2 separate regions of the Homo sapiens genome follow, and region 1 is linked to region 2. The links are contacts of gene promoters, found by promoter capture Hi-C in blood cells and fetal thymus (Javierre and others, 2016). All regions are on one chromosome and are shown on one strand. The core of a region is centred on a gene start or on the middle of the fragment in contact, and the rest is flanking DNA. Distances in the headings are between cores, read along the strand shown. Region 1 overlaps CNNM1 (cyclin and CBS domain divalent metal cation transport mediator 1). Region 2 holds the start of HPS1 (HPS1 biogenesis of lysosomal organelles complex 3 subunit 1).

Region 1 (4,827 bases), core at 903-3,402, 910 kb after region 2:
GTGGGAGGCATACCACAAAGGCCATGTTTTAAAATCACCACACTGGCATTATTTCCTGATTCTAGATGAGAGATGGTAATTCAGTGGAGATTAAATGATTTGTCAAGGAATAGTAACTGGGATAGTTAGTGGGGAAGGGGGCTTAGGGGAGGAGAATGACTTTTACCATAATTCTGACTCTAAATTCTTGCTCTTTCAATTAGTATATATTATATCAGCTAACATATACTTGCTAATATGTAAAAGTTCAAAGAAAAAAAACTAACTGGTTTTGAATATATTCAGTAACTTCCCTAAATAGAAACACAAATCTAGAAGAATAAGGTTTGCATTTATAAGCCCTTGCATTTATAAGCGCTTGCATAAAAACTTCATATTTTAAGGAGGTCCAGGGATGAGTGCAATCCTGAGATTGGTCAGACAGCAACTTTGTATCATTTTTCTCACAAAAAAAGATCTCTGAAAATGTCCCCGATACTTAACTGTGATTTCATTTGTTCTCTAGGAAAATCTCACCTGGCCATTGTCCAGCGGGTGAATAATGAGGGAGAAGGGGACCCTTTCTATGAGGTGATGGGCATTGTCACGCTGGAGGATATCATAGAGGAGATTATCAAGTCGGAGATCCTGGATGAAACTGATCTCTACAGTAAGTGCACGGCCTTGGCTGTTCTCCAGGGTCATCTTATTTTCCTCCAAGACTCTCAGGTAAAGCCTCATTTGATTTATAGAAAGGGTGTCAGGGCAAACCCTGTGCCCTGATGTGTGTCAGCCACCTATGCCAGGTGCTGCTGTGGCAAGATACCCTAGTTGGAATCACTTCTGAGTCACTGGGAACATGCTAGCTAAGTGTTTATCAGGAGGGAACCTTCAGGAACTGAGCCAAGACTATGAAAAGGAGACCTCCCAGCCTTTGGATAGAAACGGGACTACAGGAAACACAGTGTTCCCAGGACGGTGCCCAGAGGCCTCTCTGCCCTTGTTTCTGTCCCCTGTGTTCTTGTTTGGTTGCTTCATCCACCTAGATGCAGACCCCAACAGGGGTTCCACTCACATCAGAACATCGCAGTGAGCAGTGGAGACTGTCATGAGATTGCCTACTCACAGCCTAAGCCAAAAACTGAATACTCCTTCTTACAAACTTCCCTGTCCTCTTCTGCCTTTCAGCCCACCACCCTGGGTTTCTGTTCTCTCCCTGCCACCAGCATCCCTGCTCTTGTCTCTGCTTCCTTCTTTCTGGTCTGCTGCCCCTCCTAACTCCCTCACTCAGGAACAATACAGACTTTTCTATGCAGATGTGAGTACTTTGGGTTACTGAACCTTATCAAAGCTTTGCTTGCAAACATTACAAAGGCATGCTTTGTCTTTAGGATTGGAATGTTATCTAAGTCCATGGGAGTCCCTAGGCTGGGAAGTGTTTCCTCCTGAGAATTTCATCTCATGGAATAGCCATCCTTTTCTTCCTTGCAGATAACTCGTTTCAGACTTTGGTCCTTAGTTTGTGAGATGCGGCCTTTCAGAAACTGGCTCCTGGTAGAAAGAGCTTTGATACCATAAGGCAGTGAGCAGTGCAGAAAGAGTGCCTTCCTTTTAGACAAAGAAGAGATCAACTCTAAAAGGTGGGCCAGGCCTTGGCAAAGACAAGCAAGAGAGTCATGGCACCTCCCTCCAAGAGCCTGGGCACTGCTGTGCTTGCCCGGACCAGGCGTGTCTTCCTCACATGAGGAACGAGCTCGGAAATGTCCTCTCCCTCCCCCACCTCTGCCTGCCACTCTTGATTTAGAATTCTCAGGTGTAGCCTGGGCAACATGGTGAAACCCCATCTCTACAAAAAATACAACAGTTAGCCAGGCGTGGTGACGTGTGCCTGTAGTCCCAGCTACTTGAGAGGCCAAGGTGGGAGGATCACTTGAGCCTGGGAGGTCCTGGCTGCAGTGAGTGGAGATTGTGCCACAGCACTCCAGCATGGGAGCCTGGGTGACAGGGCAAGACTGTCTCAAAAAAAAAAAAAAAAAAAAAAAAAAAAAAAAAATCCCAGGTGTCTCAGATAAACTAGTGAAGCCATTCACACTAAGGTGTTAGGTACTGATAATAGTCTAAATGAGTAAGCTCCTCCCAGGGCACTTGTTTGAACAACCTTAAGGCTTCCAACACACACTATTGAAATCTAAGGAGAAGGGGGCGATGAGAGGAATGATTTCCTAATAATGCCATGTTAAGTGGCAATCTGATGGGGGAGAGGGGGGCTATTTAGGCAAACTTATCATACAAATCAGAAAGTTGCTCACTAGTGAGAGCGAAAGAGCTGGGCTAATAGCCTGTATTTTGCTACTCTTTTGCTGAGTGATCCTCTTTCTACAGGAGCAGGTTAGGGTCTTTCTACCTATAAATAGCTGCTGGCATGATTCCCTAAGAGCTATGAAAAGGCCCAGAAGCCAGGGATACTGTCTTTCTTCTTGCATGACCCTGACCTCTTACGTGATCTGGACACCTGGGTCTGGGTCTGCCCATTGTGACTTGAGCAAAAGGAGTGTCAAAGCAGGGGCCAGATGACTGTGAAGGCCCAGAGTCAGAGCGGGCCATGGAAGAGCTGCACCGGCAGGAGGGCACTTTGACCCTTCTAGAAGGAAACCCAAAAGCAGGCCCCAAAAGGAGAGGGGGCACACCAGGGAGCCGGATTCTGGGGCCTTATTTTCCTGCCACAGGGGTTCATTCCCTTTCATTCTCACTGCATCCACTCAGCTTGCACCAGACGTTCCCCCACAGCCCTGTTTCTCTTTAGGCGAAGTTTGGAGAAAACCCAAATCCCTCTCCCTGTTCCCCTTAGTGCAGGTAAGATGGGCTAGCAGTTTCAAAATTTTACTCAAAACTCAGGGAAAGCAAAAGAGAAAGAACCAAAGAAAACATTTCCTCTACCAAAAAAAAAAAAACAAAAAAAAAAGCGGGGGCCGGGGGGGAAGTAGATATATTTAGACAAGCTTTAAAAAGAATGAGAACAAATTAAATTGGAAAAAGCAAATGTTTTCAACCAATAATTACATGCCTGATACATAGGCTCTTGGGAGGTACCAGACCCTGCCTGAGGCCCCCATCCAGAAAACCCACCTTTAGAGATTATAGGTCCAATCTTATTTCTTCTCCTCTCTTCTTCCCTATATTTCCCCTGATTCCCTCCCAGTGGAGGGACTGGGGTTGAAGCAGGGAAATTGTGAAATAAGAGGTGGTGGCCGCCCTCCTTCCTTGTGTGGCATGCTTCAGGTACCACTCAGAGCATGGTTCACATAAGCAGCAGGAGACTAGGTGAGGCCAGTTCAGGGCAAAGGAGGGGGACAGAGTCAGAAATTCCCTGGGCCCCTGCAACCCTCTTGATACTAAGAATGCAGGTCCCTTGTGTGTGTATGACTTTGGGTAAAAGCATTCTCACAGGTAGTTTCCAGTTGGAGTCTCATAATTAATTGCACAAGATGAGTATGAGAGCTATATTAAATATTATTAGCCTCCTTGTACAGATTAAAATAAAAACTCTAATGCTTAGAGAGATTACATGGTAAGTAGGGGAACCAGCCCCAGAACCCCAGACTTGGGTACCCCAAGCCTGCTTTCCCCTTTTTCTACTATACACCCCCTAAGTGTGGAAAACACTGAAATGATGGCAGTCTCCCATTGTCTATCCCTCACCAACATCCTTCTACTTCCTGGGTGATATTGTGATGTCACCCATAGTTGACACTGCAGAAATGTTCTATCTGTCCCCTGTGATTCTGGGAAAACCTCCAAAGATCAACGTGATTCTGAGATAGCTGTAATCTGTCCTCTGTGACCCCACAGCTGACAATCGGAAAAAGCAGAGGGTCCCGCAACGGGAGCGGAAGCGGCATGACTTCTCCTTGTTTAAGCTTTCGGACACGGAGATGCGGGTGAAGATCTCACCACAGCTTCTGCTAGCCACACACCGCTTCATGGCCACAGGTAGGACAAGTCTCCACTCCAGAGAAGCTAAAACAGAATCTCTAGGGTGGGACCCAGGCACCAATCGTTGTTAATACCTTCCAGCCTGATTCCAGTGTGCTGTCAGGACTGAGAAGCACTGTTCTAGGAAGGAGGTTGCCTTAGACAGGGTAATGGATGCCACCTACTGTCGTATTGAGCCCCAGGCCTGATCTCATAGAGGAAGAAATGAGTATAACTCAACTCTTCTACCAGAGAAAAGAGCTAAAGAAACCATTGCTGCACTTTTCCCTCTTCTACTCACTTCCTCGCTGAAGCCCGAGGCCATCTCCCTGTCTGTTAGACTTGCAGTGCCCTAGAGCAGTGCCACAGAAGCCTGTGAGCTATGAATTTTTAAAATACAGAAGTGTATTGTGAATCTTGGGATCTTTAGAAAGAAAAAAAAGTGAGAAAATCCAAAGATAAACTCCTTCTTGTGAAGAAGATAAAGTTTGTCTTTGAACCCTCTGACCATCCATGCCTAATTAATGTGCTGACCTAGAATGATCATATCTATCACTAACTTCAATATTTAATTAATCCAACATATATTTATTGAGTATGTAATGAGTGCTAGCACTGTTTTAGGTGCTAAAGAGTAGAAAATTTTAAGTTGGAGCTGCTTTAAGATAGAATTTCTAGTTCTGAGTACAGATTTCTTTTAACTACTTCCCAGAGCCTATGTTATATAAGTAATATAAGTTTAACATATGTAATATAAGCAATAGCTGTAATATATAAATATGATGCAATGATGCCTCACATTATTGACAACTTATTATTTAAATAATTGCCTGTCTTTAGTAACATGGGATTTCATTTCATTCAGCAGATATATGT
Region 2 (5,213 bases), core at 138-2,637:
CTGGGATCCTGCCCCTCACCTCCCATAATGGAGAATAGGAACCCGGCCAGCACAGCCCTTTGCACAGAGCAGGTGCCCACTTTTGTTCCTTCCTCCTTTGTTCCCATGAAGTGCTCTCACTTCTGCGGGTCACTCAGAGCTCCCCAAGCAGCCCCAGGGAGCTTGCTAGGAGTGACTGACGGGAGACAGCATAGCACATCCCAGGTGGTGAGGATGCAGTCCCGGTGAAGGGAGTGGGGATCCTGGGATGATACGATGAATGGAAGGAAACTAACAGGAAAGGCATCTGGGACCAGGTTCTAGTTTTGGCTTTGCCAAGTCCCATAAACCTCTCTGAGCCTCAAACTCCTGCGGAGAAACAGAGCAACATCCCCTACTCTACCTCCCTACAGGGTTAGATCATGGGAGTGACCAGGCAAGCTGCAAAGTAACCTTAGCAAACTGCGTTCTTACATAGGTGTGGGGATCATTATTCCTATTTCCCAGCTTCCCTTCTTCAAATAACAGGATTAATCAATCTGGTTCCGGAATCATTCATATTTGAATAGAGGGCAGGAACAACAGAAAACTTAATTAGGAAGTCAAGCACTGTGAGCCAGTAAGAGGCAAGTGACTACCCGCCACAGAGACTGCTGTTACGAGTTCGGCCTTTAGCAGCCGAACCCTGAGACGGGCTCCATCACCCACATGATTGGCCCGAATGCCATATTCCCGAAACAGGGGGATGCTTCCCAAAGGCTGCTGGGAAGAGAACCTCGCCGGTGTCACACTGAGACTTCCGCTTCACCTCGCTATCTTGCCCTAGAAAGGGAACTCGGAGGGGACTCACTGACGAAAGGAGCTCCAGATGGCGGGGGGCCAACCTGGGGCGACCCCCAGCGCCCACTTTCACCATCTGGACCCCAGCAAACCTCCCTGTGGCCCTTGGTCCCGTCTTCAGCAGCTCCTTCTGGGGTCCCACACCTTCGGAGCCCGGCCCTGCCCCTGAGTCTCTGGAGAGAGCGAGTCAGCAGTTCGCCGCCGCGGGGCTCCCGTTTGCCTAGCACGCCAGTTTCTGTCCAGTTTCACCCCAAATCCCCACCTCCCCCCACCCCCGAACCTCACGGCCACCCTGGGAAGGAGGCTTGACTTGTGACATCCACCCCTCTTCACGGCTGAGGAACTTTGGCCCCGAGCGAGGAAGCGACCGGCCCACGGCCACACGCCCGGAGTGGGTGAGGCTAGGAGTGGGCCCGCTCCGGGACCCCTAGGGACCCTACCTCACTTCCGGGAGGGTTGAAGGGGGGCTCCGGAGGGAGGATCGCCGCCCCCAGAGGGGACAGCCCGGAGGCCCACGTACCGGATCGCGGCGCGCACAGCGCCCCGCCTGCAGGAGCCCGGGCGCGCTTCCGGGTAGGACCGCGTGATCGCGCACGTGACCGCCCGCCCCGGGAGGGGCCGGAGCCGCCGTCGCCTTCCGCGGGTTCGAGCCCCGCCCCTGCCAGGCCTTGCCCATGCCCCATTTTACAGAAGAGGAAACGGAGGCGCAGAGAGAAGAAATAACTTGCTGAGGGTCCGAACCAGGCTCAGAACCCAGGTTTCCTGGCTCCTCAGCTGATCCCTTCTCTCCTCCCCATGCCCCGGAACCTCAGGCTTTGCCTAATGAACTGAAGTTCTGGGGCTAGAGCTGTCCTTTTGTGACTGCTCTCCCTGACCTTTGGGGAGGTGACATAGCGCACAGAAGGGCTCAGTTGCCCCCAGAGTGCCAACGCTGGAATTTATAGGAGTTCTCAATCTATTTTGGGAGTGGAGTGCACATTAGGAGTTTTGTGTTGAACCTATGTTTGCAATATTTATTTTAAAAAATCGTATGTGTATTGGGGGTGCCTGGAAGTGGAGGGGGCGCTCTGGAAGGGCCTAAATCCCCGAACAGTCCACCCCTCAGTGCCTGGGTGCCACCTGGGAGCTTTGAGCCCAGCCCAGCAAGGTATGGGTTGCAAGAACTGGCTGGGGATATAGTAGATTGAGCATCTCTTGGGGGAAAGGCAGAGGCTAAGAATCAATACTTCCACCACCTGCAGATCAAAGAGAGCATCACTCCCCCCAACCCACTACCCACCCCTTCCAGCCCACCTTAGGGCAAATTCTTCCAACTCCCCATCTACAGCACATAGCCCTGCCACACGCATCTCTTTGCTCAGCCCACCGTTGAGATCGTTCACTCACTATGCTTTCAGTGGTCGAATGAATTCCATCAAATGGATATGCTGTTATTTACTTATTCATTCCCCTACTGGTAATTTCCATTTCCCAACTGCAATGTATGAGGATTCTGATTTCTCCACATCCTCACCAATGCTTGTTATTGTTGATTTTTTTTTTTTTAAGTATAGTAACCCAGCGTGGAGTGGTGTCTTGTGATTTTATTTGCACTTCCCTGACGTTCGGCATCTTTTCATGTGCTTTTTGCCTATTTGTGTACCTTCTCTGGAGAAATGTCTATTCAAATCCTTTATCCATTTTTAAATTGTCTTTATTATTGAGTTGTAAGAGTTCTTTATATGCTCTGGTTACAAGCCCCTTATCAGATACTTGATTTGCAAAAGTTTTTTTCCCATTATGTGGCTTGTCTTTTCACTTTCTTAGTGGTATCATTTGTAGCACCAAAGTTTTACATTTTTATGTAATCCAATATAATCTATTTTTTAGTTATGTACGGGTTTTTTGTGTCAACATGTTTCTTTTTTTCAAATTTGTTTGTGGTAAAATACATATAATGTAAAATTGATCATTAAGCATTTTAAGTGTATTGTTCAGTGGTATTAACTACATTCCTAATGCTATGCAGCCATCACCACCATCCATCTCCACAGCTCTTTTCATCTTTTAAAACTGAAACTATATCCATTAAGCAATAATGCTGGCCGGGTGTGGTGGCTCACACCTGTAATCCCAACACTTTGGGAGGTCAAGGCGGGCGGATCACAAAGTCAGGAGTTTGAGGTCACCCTAGCCAACATGGTGAAACCCTGTCTCTACTAAAAATACAAAATTAGCAGGGTGTGGTGGCACACAGCTGTAGTCCCAGTGACTCAGGAGGCTGAGTCAGGAGAATTGCTGGTACCAAGGAGGCAGAGGTTGCAGTGAGCCAAGATCATGCCACTGCACTCCAGCCTGGGCAACGGAGCGAGACTCCCATCTCAAAAACAACAACAAAAACAACAACAACAACAATTCTTCATTCCTCCTCATAGCAACCACAATGTTACTTTCTGTCTCTATGAATTTGACTACTCTAAGTACCTCATATAAGTAGAATCATACAGTATTTGTCTTTTTATGACTGGCTTATTTCACTTAGCATAATATTCTCAAGGTGCATTCATGTTGTAGCATATGTGAGAATTCCTTCCTTTTTTCTTTATTTTTAAGCCTAAATAATACTCTATAGTCTGTATATACTACATTTTGCTTATCCATTTATCTGCTGATGGACAATTGGGTTACATCCATTGTGAATAAGGCCATTATGAACATGAGTGTACAAATATCTCTTTGAGACTCTGCTTTCAATTCTTTTGGGCATATACCCAGAAGAGAAACTGCTAGATCATATGGTAATTCTATTTTTAATTTTTTAAGGAACTACCATACTGTTTTCCACAGCAGCTGCATCATTTTACATTCCCAACCTGGAACAAGTGTTCCAGTTTACCCACATCTTTGTCAACACTTGCTATTTTCTATTTTCTTTAAAATTTTTATAGTAGCCATCCTAATGGGTGTGAGGTAGTTCAACATAAGTTTATATTTCTCTTAGGTAAATATCTACTCATGGGATTGCTGGGCTGTATGGTAAGTCTGTGTTTAAATTTATATTAAACTGCTGAACCATTTTCCAAAGTGGATGTACCATTTTACATTCCTTCTAGCAACACTGAGAGGTGTAATTGCTCTGTAGTCTTGTTAGCACTTGATATTGTCCTATTTTAACTTTAGCCATTCTAGTAGGTATGTGGTAGTATGTTAAGTGTTCAAATTTTGCCTATTTAAAAATTGGATTGTTTGTCTTATTATTTATTTATGTGTTTGAATTCAAGCCCTTTATTATATTTTTTTTTCCCAGTCTGTGGCTTTGTCTTTTCATTTTCTTTACAGTGACTTTTGAAGAGCAGAAATCTTTGTGCATTTTGTGTCCTATGTAAAGTCTCTGCTTAGCCAGGGTCACAGAGATTTTCTCCTGTTTTTTCTTTTTTGCAGAAATTTAATAGTCGTAGATTTTGTCTTTAGGTTCACAATCCATTTTGAGTTAATTTTTGTGTGTGATGTGAAAGAAGGTTGAGGTTTTAGTCTTTTGTGTGTGTGTGTGTGTGTGTGTGTGTGTGTGTTTTGTATATAGATGTCCAATTTTTCTAGAACCATTTGTTGAAAAAAAATATTTTCTCAGCCAGGCGTGGTGGCTCATGCCTGTAATCCCAGCACTTTGGGAGGCTCAGGAGGGCAGATCATCTGAGGTCAGGAATTGGAGACTAGCCTGGCCAACATGGTGAAACCCCATTTCTAGTAAAAATACAAAAAAATAAATTAGCTGGGCGTGGTGGCATGCACCTGTAATCCCAGCTACTCAGGAGGCTGAGGCAGGAGAATCGCTTGAACCCAGGAGGCAGAGGTTGCAGTGAGCCAAGATCGTGCCATTGCACTCCGGCTTGGGCAACAGGAGTGAAACTCCATCTCAAATAAATAAATCAATCAATCTTTTCTCCATTGGATTAATTATCATGGCACGTTGTCTCAAATCAGTTGACCATCTGTGTGTGAATCTATTTTTGGAGTCTATGTTCAATAAATTTAAAAGGAGTTTATTGATTTTCTTAGAGGCAGTTTTTGGTTGAATCAATTTTTATTGATCCTGTTTTTAAATTCATCAGTTTCTGTTCTGATAGTTACTATTTCGTGTCTTCTGTTTACTTTGGGTTTTTTTTTCTTCTAGAAACAGAGGCCACTGATTTGAGACCTTTTGTCTTTTCTAATGGAGTTGAGTGCTGTAGATCTTCCCCAAGGTCCTGCTTTATCAGCATCCCACAACTTTTTATCTGCCATGTTTTCATTTTCAATTACTTTAAAATGCTAATTTTTCTTTTGATTTATTTAGAGTATAGTTCAGAGGTCAGCCAGATATTTGAGTGTACTTTGTACCAGCTTTTTAAGTTTCTCCCACCTGTTCCCTTTCCCTC

The links. The method cuts DNA at HindIII sites, captures the fragments that hold promoters and counts their contacts. A CHiCAGO score of 5 or more calls a contact.
Region 1: a contact is called between a fragment that was not itself captured here and the fragment with the promoter of HPS1 in region 2, in 1 of 17 cell types (M1 macrophages). The highest score is 6.2, in M1 macrophages.

The regions. Positions count from the first base shown.
Region 1 is chr10:99,357,007-99,361,833 of GRCh38, forward strand. CNNM1 (cyclin and CBS domain divalent metal cation transport mediator 1) reads left to right here. Exons shown (of 11, transcript NM_020348.3): 2 at 506-649; 3 at 3,829-3,969. Among named protein-coding and RNA genes, the nearest start is that of CNNM1, 30 kb to the left of the region's middle. RefSeq lists enhancers at 956-1,623, 1,624-2,290. The HindIII fragment of the contact is 1,648 bases long and covers 1,329-2,976 here.
Region 2 is chr10:98,445,548-98,450,760 of GRCh38, forward strand. HPS1 (HPS1 biogenesis of lysosomal organelles complex 3 subunit 1) reads right to left here and starts at 1,388. Exons shown (of 20, transcript NM_000195.5): 1 at 1,260-1,388. HPS1-AS1 (HPS1 antisense RNA 1) reads left to right here and starts at 774. Exons shown (of 3, transcript NR_134454.1): 1 at 774-1,210. RefSeq lists a silencer at 1,206-1,555. The HindIII fragment of the contact is 10,907 bases long and covers 1-5,213 here.